Regions from separate parts of the Homo sapiens genome. Here regions 1 and 2 are each linked to region 3. Evidence: promoter capture Hi-C in 16 types of primary human blood cells and fetal thymus (Javierre and others, 2016). All regions are on one chromosome and are shown on one strand. The core of a region is centred on a gene start or on the middle of the fragment in contact, and the rest is flanking DNA. Distances in the headings are between cores, read along the strand shown. Region 1 overlaps RAB3C (RAB3C, member RAS oncogene family). Region 2 overlaps RAB3C (RAB3C, member RAS oncogene family). Region 3 holds the start of LINC02108 (long intergenic non-protein coding RNA 2108).

Region 1 (3,931 bases), core at 709-3,208, 280 kb before region 3:
CCTCCATACTACGTGTGTTTTGCTCCGCAATTAGAATGTACATTCCACTGTGCTTCTCCATATCTCTAGAGATAGTAACATAGTGCCCAGCATGAGCAGGTGTCCAGTAGATGTTGGCTAATTAAAAGGTTTTTTTTAACTTTTGAAATTTTTGTGGGTATATAGTAGGTGTATATATTTATAGGGTTAATTAAAGAATAGATTTCTGTTAATTGGCTGGGAGAAGTAGTGGGGTTAATGGGGAAATGGAGAGAAAGAGAATCACTTTTCCTTTGTTTTTAGTTATGACGTGACTAAACCAGTGAACAATTCTGTCAGCCATATCATTTTTAGATGGAGTTTACCAAGCATGGAATTTCACAAAATATCGTTTTGGTTTTGCCCTGTGGGAAATTTATGATATAAAACAAATTAAACCAGCTCTATTTACTCACAAGGAAAGACATATTTCTGAAAAAATTTGAAGAAATGCAAGATCGTTACACTTCAACACCTGAACTAAGAACTATTAAAGTGCTGAGAAGTCAATGTTCTGTCATATTGGTTTTAATAAAGAGATAAGGATCATTTATGATTGGCAGAGTGGCTGCTTATATGCAAAGAGTGCTAAGTGTTTTAAAAGAGTTTTTTCTCTGAAATGGGTTAAATATAACCTTGTAACTTCTTAACATTTCAATAGGCTTTCAATGATAAAGGAGACAATTTCCAGCTCAGCCTATTTATGAATTGTCAACAAAAACATTGATAACTTCTGTCTGTTTAGGATTTTCAGGTTACAATAACATATGCATTATCAATTAGGAAGTTATTTTTGCTGTGGAGGATACATATGAAATAGAGCAAATAGTGTAATACATTTTTAATTACTAGGGCCCAAATGAATGAAATTTCATTGTGATATCAAAGGATATGGAATCTTAAATGTAACTAACATTTATTAAGTACATACTATATGCACATACTACGCTAGGCCTTTTTGCATTTATTTTCTAATCCTGTAACCAGCCCCATGAAGTAGATGACTTTACAAGGCTCATTTTACAGTTGCGAAAATGGTTGAGTCACACACTTGGTAAACCAGGACAAGATCTAAAATCTGACTCTAAAGTCCACACTCTTAACCTTTGTACATCCCTAATGTCCATCTTCTTATATTTTGGCAGTGTTCCACTAGCTGTTGGCTTCATTTACAAGTTCTTGGGATTTCTTATCCTTTCTAATATGTACTAATATCTGCCAATTCTTAAAATCAAGAAATTCTTCTCGAGGTCTATATCTACCTCCTTTCAATAGTAACACAGCCTAGACACAGAACACTATGTGAAGCTTCATACAAATGATTTTACTTTATATAGTGACAAATTCTGAAAGTCGTAATTAAATCATCCCTTGTCTTGATGAAGTTTGAATATGGAAAAGGAACTCTCTCCAGAAGCAGCTAGCTTTTTCACTGAACTCTCAAGGCAGAGGATGAGATGATGATGAATCTTTCTTAGGATGGCTACTTCCTTGTCAAATAAAGCCAAGCCATGCAAATGCCAGTTAAGTAAAGTTAAGGGTAAAATAGAGACAATAGGGCATAGTACCAAGATTTAGTGGAGAAAACTATTCTAATGGCTTACACGGATGAAATATCATGGGTCAGTCTGTACACAGCTGAAAGCAGGTGCCTACAGGCATCAAAGAGAGTATATCTTTGGGATTTGGGATTGAGACAAGAAAAAGTCATCCACTGAGAATAAAGTTATTAAGTAAGTGCCACAAAGTCCATGAGATTAGCCATCTGCAGAAGGAATTCACTCCAAGATAGGATGAACAAACGATTTTCTGGTGAGAACAGCACACTTCTCAAAATCCATCAAGGGACTAGAGTGTCTTCCAAATTTCTCAGATGGAGGGTAAGACTTCTCTTTTATCAGTAGTCTAATAAATGATAAAAATTTCAAGGTAAAACCATTAAAAGAAAATGGAGTTGATTTGTGTGAAGTCAAGGAAAAAAAGAGTCAAGGATTGAGATTATTTACTGCCCAGTATGGTCAATGGGGAAATGAGAGGATGCCTGCATTGAGTTGGCTGAGTATACAGGTTTACTTGCTCTGTATCCCAATAAAGAGCATTGTACTTACTCAATGGTATCCCTTAACATCACATGCCTGGCACATAGTGAGAGCTCAATAGGATAAGAAATACATGAGTAGAAAAGGACCAAGGCAAGGAACAGACAGCTACGATTTGTCAAAGGGAGAATGCTAAGTGCAGCAAGAGACTGCAGACACACATAGGGTGATTTGAAATCACCATAGGGCTGTGTAGAAGCACCCAATCTCTGCAGACTTGTCTATCCAAACTGGATCAGATCTGCCTGGAGTTAGGAAGGACTTTCCACTGAAGAGAAAATGTAAAATGATCCCCACCAGCCCCCACTGCCACCACAAACACCTACAGTCCTTATAAGAGGAGAATCCCAAAGCTCTTGCAAACCCTAAGCCCATTTTGGAGAGCCGCTAGGAATTCATGCAGCTGTATTGCCCTGTAGCAGGAGCACAAGGTTTGCACTCCCCATACCTCACACCCCTGTGAGCCAAGCTTCTGCAGCATAGCACCATCTTGAGACCAGAGCTACCTCTGGGGTCCACCCTTCTCTGGGGGCCAGTATCTACTGCACCTCTCCAGCACTGGGACTCCATTTTATTTCCAACAAGCTGATACAGGTAGCTGAATGCCACAACCCCAGCTGTGCAGAGCCTGGGCCCAGAATCAGCTATGACTCTGGTCCTGCACAGCAGGGAAAACAACTCCTGTCACTACACTTTCAGCTGGGGGAAGAGTATAGCAATCTTGCCCAGGGCAACTCTACTCTTGAGCCAGCCAAACTGCTACATGCCCTCCCCTAAATGGGAGAGGACCTGAGTCTCTGAGCAGCTGATCTGCCCCTGGCCAGCAAAGTCGCTATGTGACCGTGCTCAGGACCTGAGAAATAGCCCTGCAGTGCCCCTGCCCCCTGCCCCCTGCAGACATGGCTGTGGCCTACCCAATGGTCCTGTACTCTCCATCAGTGCCTAAGAAACAGCCTTGCAGGTTGCCCCTGGTGGGCATACCCCCAGGCCAACTGAAGAGCCTTGCACCTGCATGTAGACCTGAGAAATAGTTCCACGGACCACTCCTGGCAGGCACAATTCTAGGTCAGACAAGCAATTGCATGCTTGTGCCTGTGGCAAGAGTAACAGTACCATAGCTCCAACCCCAGTGACTCCAAGTTAGCTAGCACACTGTGTGCATATATATGCCTCCAACCTGAGAAACAGCCCAGCAACCCCAATCCTACAAAGCCACACCACTGGTGCCACAGACTCTCTCAGCCTAGACCACTGAGAAACTTGCTTATGCTACTAGTATGGATTATAGCTGAAGAAACTACATGGAGAGTACACTGTTGCATCCACCTAGAAGCAAAGCCAATGTACTCTACCAAACCAATACCCTAAAACTCATTCATATGAAACCTACTTCATAAAATTGGAAGAAGTGACTTTACCACGTGCATAGAAATCAGTGTAGGGACACATCAAACATGAGAAAGCAAGGAAACAAGACACTGTCAATGAAAAACAGCAATTCTCAAGTAACAGACCTCAATGATAAGAAAATGTGTGAAATCCCAGAAAAAGAATTCAAAACAATAAACTTAAGAAAACTGAGATACAAGAGAATATAGGCAATTCAATGAATTCAGAAAGACAATTCATGATTTGAATGAGAAATTCGACAAAGAGATGGGTATCATTAAAAAGAACAAGACAGAAACCTTAAAGCTGAAGAATCCAATGACTAAAATAAAAAAATTACCATTGAGAGCTTCAACAACAGACTAGACCAAGAAGAAAAAAGAATTTCTGAAGTTGAAGACAGGGCTTTTGAAATAATATAAGCA
Region 2 (4,056 bases), core at 465-2,964, 300 kb before region 3:
TGGAACTCATTCTCTTTTCTTTAAACCTACTGCTACTGTTGTACTTTCTCTCTTAGTTAATGGCAAAATCAACCAAGCCAGAAGCCTGAGGGTCTTCTTTGGTTTCTTCCTCTTCCTCTTCCCGAATCTTACTGGTCACCATTTCTTACCTTCTAAAGTGAACTTTCATGTATTCCCTACTCTTCATTTCTATCATTCTGCAATTAATTTAGAGATAAAACTTCTAGGTTACTATAATAGCTGTCTAATACTCTTTCTGTTTCTGTTATTGCCTCCCTTTAATTCATTTCTCATATTGCCAATTTTGTGATCTTCTAAAATTCAAATCTGTTCAAACTTCTACCTGGCTTAAATCTGTTCATGAATTCCCCACAGCTAGAGAATGAAATCTAGACATTTAAAGCATTTCTGATAAATGTTATGATCTCAGCCCTCGCTCTTTCTCCTTTTGTTTCATCCTGTGATCACCCTATGTGAATGGCTTTGAAATTCCATAAATACACCATGCTTTGCTAAACTTCCGTGGTTTGCTCCCCATGCTTGGAGCAGTCTTCTCTCACATCTGCCTCTGCATAATTCCTACATCTCCTGTATGTTTTAGCTCAGTCCTTGTTTCCTCTAGTAGGCCTTCTCAGAACATCCCAGCCCTTGCTTTCAATCTGGATTAATAATTGCTTCTCTCTGTGCTTTCACAGTAGCTTGTGTTTAACCTCTATATTGACACTAATCAAATTATATTGTAATTGTCTGCTTGGTAGAATATTGTTTTGAAATATTAATCCAGATTTTCATCCAACACTCACTTTCCATATATTTTCTATACCCTTTGCCTTTCTTCCACTTAGCAGAATTGCTTTAAGGGAGAGGCAATACTTAAAAAAGAGAACATAATTTTTAGATAAAATTTCCTGAGATTTAGAATTAATAAACAATGAGAAATTCTAGCTCAAAAGGACTCAGGTCATTAACAATAGATTAGGAAGAAAAGATGAGCAGGCAGTCTCTATCAGACTAAAGCTTCTTTGGACTGGGTGAGGGGTTGAGAAGTTAGAGGAGAAAGAGGAGAACCAAGAACCAAGAGGTGGAGTGTCCCTGAGAACTGTGCAAAGACTTTGTGGCCTTTTATATAGAAGGTGTCCTTTTCAAGTCTGTTAGGAAGTTGAGGAGAGAATGACTTAGCATTTTCTGAGGGTGACAGATGTTTTCTGTTTCATGCCTACTGTCTCAATGCTATTGAGTAAGTGGCCACATAGTAACTTCATGTTTTAAAATTAATTTTAAAAAAGCTAAGGGCATATTACTTGAGGGAATAGGGTACAGGCAGATTCCTGCTAAAACCAGTTGGATCTGGTTCTGCCACAAGAGCCTCAGAATAATCAGGAAACATGTGAAGTCTTTCTGGGCTCTTAATTTTTTTTTTTAAGTTTTGAACTGACTTTTATTGATTGTTATATATTTATCTGGGGGCAAAGGACTACAGTCCAAAAAATGCATTTTACAACATTTCAAAGAGGAAATTTTTGTGAGCTCTTTTGAAATGAAACAAATTTCCAATGTTCATTTTAAGTATTTATTAGACATATATATTAAGGAATATTTAGTTTATCAATGATGAGTTTTTTATTGATATTAACTTACACATTTTCCTCTATCACAATGGTTTAAGTTCATGGAGGGTCAGGACTCTATAGTATGTATTTTCATGTATACTGATAAATACTGATAAATTACTGAAATACTGATAAATACTGATAAATACTGATAAATTAGCATTAGAAGGCATTTTGTAAGTATTTGTTGATAATATAACTGGAAATCCCTTAATTTATTATCATTGTTTTCTTTTTTTTTTTTTTTGGTTTCTTAAGTGCTACTTGCTTTGTCTACCCAGGGAGGTTACCCTTCTATTACCAAGTTCAGTTCAGGAAGCTAATTTGACCCATGGGACTCATGTGGCTCTTCCAGGGACCTTCCCCCTTGACTGATTTTCAGTGCAGACTCCTTCCTGGAAATTGCCCTGAGGAACATTTGGAAGAAATTCCATAGAATCAGTGCTGTTAGTACAAGTAGAATGCTACAAGATTGCAAAATTAGTAGTAGGTCTGCTGTGATACAAATAGATTGGTAGCTGGGTGCTTCCCCATGCCTTGAGGCCCATGGCCAAGGAGATCCTGCACGGCATCCTAATCATCACTGCACCAAGCACTGTGCATTAAATGACACCCATTCCATTCACACATCCCATCCACATGTTTTCTCTGTTGACCGCCCTTGCCTCGGGCTATGCCAGTAGGGTGCTAAGTGATCATCAAACCTTAGACTTTTCATTTAGGGACACATGGTCTTCAAGTTGCAGACCTGAAGACCTTTATCTCCCTTAGCAGCTATTCTTGATCCTACAGCTAAGCTTTGTAACTCTGGAACCCAGTCAGTTGGGTCAGTTAGAAAGTTATCGACCTTGAAAGATTACAAGTATTAGAATTCATTCCTGTGCCTAAGTCCAAATTCATGTGTGAGATACTCAAAGCCCTAAATGTGTTCACTCTTCATCTTCAGTTCAAACTCAGTGTTGTACCTAAGATTATAGAAGTGGGAGAAGAAATGGAAATAAGCATCCTAGGATGAAAAATAATATGAATTGAAAGGAGATGAAAAACATTAATCAGACTAAGGCTAAGAAATTCAGGAATATAGTCTCTTAGATATTTATTGTAATCTTCAAGAAATAAAACAAACTCAAAGAACAAAAACCACTTTCTTTATAGAATTCACATACAAACTGAATACCTAATAGAGCACATACCATTTTTACACAATTAATTTCAATAAAGATAATTAAAACTTCACAATGTGAATACACTTCATAGCTTTAAACCCACACAAGAGCTCCTGTGGACACATGAAGAGTCACAATATTTGCTATGCAGCAGTAGTTTTCAACTAAATGTCGGTCACTATATGAAAGCATTAAGCTGTTTTCAATATTTTCTTAAGAAGAGTTCCACAGTGCAGTCACTGAGAAGGGGCCAAATGTGCCTGGTTCCAAAGGAAGATCTTCATCTGTGCATTTCCAATGCCCTTTATGGGAAACATGGAGCTACAGAAAAATCTCTGGGTACACATCTGCCAGGTGGCATTAGGTCGGACAATCTCTCATGGTTTGGTGCACTGGCAAATGTCTAAATCAACTGCCGTAATATGGCATTAAAGCAATTTGCATATTGTGGCTGAGTCTTGAGCTGCTCAGCACAGAGGAATATGATAATGCAACAGCTTGTCTTCCTCACGGAGACTAAAAGGTAGGGAGCTAAACTGGGGTAATTTGAATGGTTTCAAAGGGCCAGTTTGGCTGTCTTAAGAAAACAATGATCTATAGCTGATAGCTTTGTCTCTCTTCCATTCAAAGGAAACATAACTGTGGCCTTTCCCACTTATTTTCCTGGCACAATCTCCTCACTACCTAATTCTTTCCGGAATTATGTTTGACCTCTTCAATGGAGCCCTCTCTGACTCTTCCAGTTCTTACAGGTCCCCCATTCTCTGTGTTCCTATACCCTGACATAACCTAGCATTTAGATTATATCTGGATTTTTCCCCCTTGTTCTCATTAGGGGCAGGAGCCATACCTCTTCCATGTTTGATTCCCACAGCACTGAGCATATGAGGTTCAATAACTATGTGACAACTAACTAAAATTCAACCACACCCTTAAATTATCATTCTAATATTGGCTACCTGCTTCCATTTTTTAAAAAATTTGGCACAAAGTTGTCACTAATCTCCCTATTTTACCCACCTTCACTTGACTTCTTCAGTGGATTTTGAGAGCTAAGAACAAATTTCAGTCTATCACAGTTACATTCAGGCCACATATCACCCACATAGACCAAATCCATTTAATATGATTGGCACATCCTCACATGTCAATCTCCAGCCAAGCACCATAGAGAGAACTGAAGGTTTTATATGATGAACACATGGCCATGGTCATCTAGAACCAACTGTCTTGCATCAATTTTAGTGAATAAGTCATAACTTGTTTTTCTTCCTAAGGGT
Region 3 (3,735 bases), core at 292-2,791:
GGCCTGAGTCTGTCTTGTGTATCCCTTGCTTCTCATATATTAAGTCAGGGTTCAACTAGAGTAACGGAACCAGTAAGAAATAGATGTTAAGTGATTTATTGCAAGAAATAGACCTAAGTGATTTTGGGGACTGGCTGGACAAGTCTGAAATCTGTAGGGCTGGATATCAGGAGGGACAGTTTGGAACTTGGGCATGAGTTGAACTGAAGTCTGCAGATATTGAACTCTAAGCCTCAGTGTCCTAGTCTGTAAAATAGGAATAATGCTAATAGCTACCTCATAGGGCTTGCTTTTCTTCTTCAGGGAAGCCTTAGCTTTGCTCTCAGGGCCTTTAAATGGACTGAATAAATCAAGCCCACTCAGATTATGTAGTATAATCTCCCTTACTTAAAATCAATTGATTGTGGACTTTAATAACACACAAAATGCCTTCATGGCAACACTTGGATTAACATTTGATTGAATAATTAGGGACTGTGGTCTAGCCAAGTTGACAAATAAAACTAATCATCACATCTTCATATTAAGTATAGAGTGGGCACTCAGTAATTATGAGTGAAATGAACAGACACCCAGACTATTTTGTTCAACAAGAGCATTTGCTGGGTACATCTGAAGTGTTCCACTTTGTACTACTTAATGCAGCACTATCATATTATTTATGTCTTTTACTTATCAAAGTTTGTGATTTTTTTTTCCTCTTGGTACATCTGAAAGAAAGAAAATTATGTGCCCCATGCTATTTATGACCCCTCAGATTTCCTTAGAAAGAATACATTCAGGCCAGGTGCAGTGGCTCACACCTGTAATCCCAACATTTCGGGAGGCTGAGTTGGGAGGATCACTTAAGCCCAGGAGTTTGAGGTTACAGTAAGCTATGATTGTGCCACTGCACTCCAGCCTGGATGACAGAAGACCTTTTCTCTTACAAAACCAAAAAAGAATCCTTATCAATTCATGTCATTAAATGTGACAAATGTTGAGCTTCCTGAGGTTGGGGCTGCATGTTAACATTTGTGTGCTTTCTCAGCCTTACCACAGTGTATGTGTGCAGTAATTGTTCAATGCAGCTCTGTTGTAAAAAACTAAACCTACTAAGATTTCTTTAAATGATCAATTTATAGCATTTCCTATTGCATTTATGAATACTTGCAATTGATCTTGGACTATTATAATAAATGCCTTAAAAGAAGTGAAAATATACATTTGGGAGTAAATGAAAGATTTTTTCTCCAGCATCAATGCAATATAAGATTACATGTTATAATTAATAAATGTGAAATAATGTTTAATGTAAACATTATATATGTGAACAATACTGTGAATACAATGTGATGCTTATCAAAATCAGCTAAAATAAATGTTTTTAAGATTACATATTATGTGACTTGATCAGAAGAAGGAGGAAGGAAGTTTAGCATATTTTATCAATTCTAAGATGTCATCAATTGATTACGAGATACATCATTATTTTATTTACCATTAAGAACAAAAGAAAAGGGGGGAGGAGCCAAGACGGCCGAATAGGAACAGCTCCGGTCTACAGCTCCCAGCGTGAGCCACGCAGAAGACGGATGATTTCTGCATTTCCATCTGAGGTACCGGGTTCATCTCACTAGGGAGTGTCAGACAGTGGGTGCAGGCCAGTGGGTGCGCGCACGGTGCGCGAGCCAAAGCAGGGCGAGGCATTGCCTCACCTGGGAAGCTCAAGGGGTCAGGGAGTTCCCTTTCCGAGTCAAAGAAAGGGGTAACGGACGCACCTGGAAAATCAGTTCACTCCCACCCGAATATTGCGCTTTTCAGACCGGCTTAAAAAACGGCGCACCACGAGACTATATCCCACACCTGGCTCGGAGTGTCCTACGCCCACAGAGTCTCCCTGATTGCTAGCACAGCAGTCTGAGATCGAACTGCAAGGCGGCAGCGAGGCTGTGGGAGGGGCGCCCGCCATTGCCCAGGCTTGCTTAGGTAAACAAAGCAGCTCGAACTGGGTGGAGCCCACCACAGCTCAAGGAGGCCTGCCTGCCACTGTAGGCTCCACCTCTGGGGGCAGGGCACAGACAAACAAAAAGACAGCAGTAACCTCTGCGACTTAAATGTCCCTGTCTGACAGCTTTGAAGGGAGCAGTGGTTCTCCCAGCACCCAGCTGGAGATCTGAGAACCGTCAGACTGCCTCCTCAAGTGGGTCCCTGACCCCTGACCCCTGAGCAGCCTAACTGGGAGGCACCCCCAGGAGGGGCACACTGACACCTCACACGGCAGGGTATTCCAACAGACCTGCAGCTGAGGGTCCTGTCTGTTAGAAGGAAAACTAACAAACAGAAAGGACATCCACACCGAAAACCCATCTGTACATCACCATCATCAAAGACCAAAAGTAGATAAAACCACAAAGATGGGGAAAAAACAGAACAGAAAAACTGGAAACTCTAAAACGCAGAGCGCCTCTTCTCCTCCAAAGGAACGCAGTTCCTCACCAGCAACGGAACAAAGCTGGATGGAGAATGACTTTGAAGAGCTGAGAGAAGAAGGCTTCAGACGATCAAATTACTCTGAGCTACGGGAGGACATTCAAACCAAAGGCAAAGAAGTTGAAAACTTTGAAAAAAATTTAGATGAATGTATAACTAGAATAACCAATACAGAGAAGTGCTTAAAGGAGCTGATGGAGCTGAAAACCAAGGCTCGAGAACTACGTGAAGAATGCAGAAGCCTCAGGAGCCGATGCGATCAACTGGAAGAAAGGGTATCAGCAATGGAAGATGAAATGAATGAAATGAAGCGAGAAGGGAAGGTTAGAGCAAAAACAATAAAAAGAAATGAGCAAAGCCTCCAAGAAAAATGGGACTATGTGAAAAGACCAAATCTACGTCTGATTGGTGTAACTGAAAGTGATGGGGAGAATGGAACCAAGTTGGAAAACACTCTGCAGGATATTATCCAGGAGAACTTCCCCAATCTAGCAAGGCAGGCCAACATTCAGATTCAGGAAATACAGAGAACACCACAAAGATACTCCTCGAGAAGAGCAACTCCAAGACACATAATTGTCAGATTCACCAAAGTTGAAATGAAGGAAAAAATGTTAAGGGCAGCTAGAGAGAAAGGTCGGGTTACCCTCAAAGGGAAGCCCATCAGACTAACAGCGGATCTCTCGGCAGAAACTCTACAAGCCAGAAGAGAGTGGGGGCCAATATTCAACATTCTTAAAGAAAAGAATTTTCAACCCAGAATTTCATATCCAGCCAAACTAAGCTTCATAAGTGAACGAGAAATAAAATACTTCACAGACAAGCAAATGCTGAGAGATTTTGTCACCACCAGGCCTGCCCTAAAAGAGCTCCTGAAGAAAGCGCTAAACATGGAAAGGAACAACCGGTACCGGCCACTGCAAAATCATGCCAAAATGTAAAGACCATCGAGACTAGGAAGAAACTGCATCAACTAACGAGCAAAATCACCAGCTAACATCACAATGACAGGATCAAATTCACACATAACAATATTAACTTTAAATGTAAATGGACTAAATGCTCCAATTAAAAGACACAGACTGGCAAATTGGATAAAGAGTCAAGACCCATCAGTGTGCTGTATTCAGGAAACCCATCTCACGTGCAGAGACACACATAGGCTCAAAATAAAAGGATGGAGGAAGATCTACCAAGCAAATGGAAAACAAAAAAAGGCAGGGGTTGCAATCCTAGTCTGATAAAACAGACTTTAAACCACCA

Evidence for each region. Contacts are between HindIII fragments. The CHiCAGO score rates a contact against its expected background, and 5 or more counts as called.
Region 1: a contact is called between a fragment that was not itself captured here and the fragment with the promoter of LINC02108 in region 3, in 4 of 17 cell types (total B cells, naive B cells, M2 macrophages and 1 more). The highest score is 7.0, in total B cells.
Region 2: a contact is called between a fragment that was not itself captured here and the fragment with the promoter of LINC02108 in region 3, in 3 of 17 cell types (M2 macrophages, endothelial precursors and erythroblasts). The highest score is 6.1, in M2 macrophages.

What each region holds. Positions count from the first base shown.
Region 1 is chr5:58,840,184-58,844,114 of GRCh38, reverse strand. All of the region lies in intron 4 of RAB3C (RAB3C, member RAS oncogene family), which reads right to left. Among named protein-coding and RNA genes, the nearest start is that of PDE4D-AS1, 200 kb to the left of the region's middle. The HindIII fragment of the contact is 1,260 bases long and covers 1,329-2,588 here.
Region 2 is chr5:58,858,020-58,862,075 of GRCh38, reverse strand. RAB3C (RAB3C, member RAS oncogene family) reads right to left here. Exons shown (of 5, transcript NM_138453.4): 5 at 2,682-4,056. Among named protein-coding and RNA genes, the nearest start is that of PDE4D-AS1, 180 kb to the left of the region's middle. The HindIII fragment of the contact is 1,390 bases long and covers 1,020-2,409 here.
Region 3 is chr5:58,556,049-58,559,783 of GRCh38, reverse strand. It overlaps LINC02108 (long intergenic non-protein coding RNA 2108), which reads left to right and starts at 1,541. Exons shown (of 4, transcript NR_109904.1): 1 at 1,541-1,598. The HindIII fragment of the contact is 10,011 bases long and covers 1-3,258 here.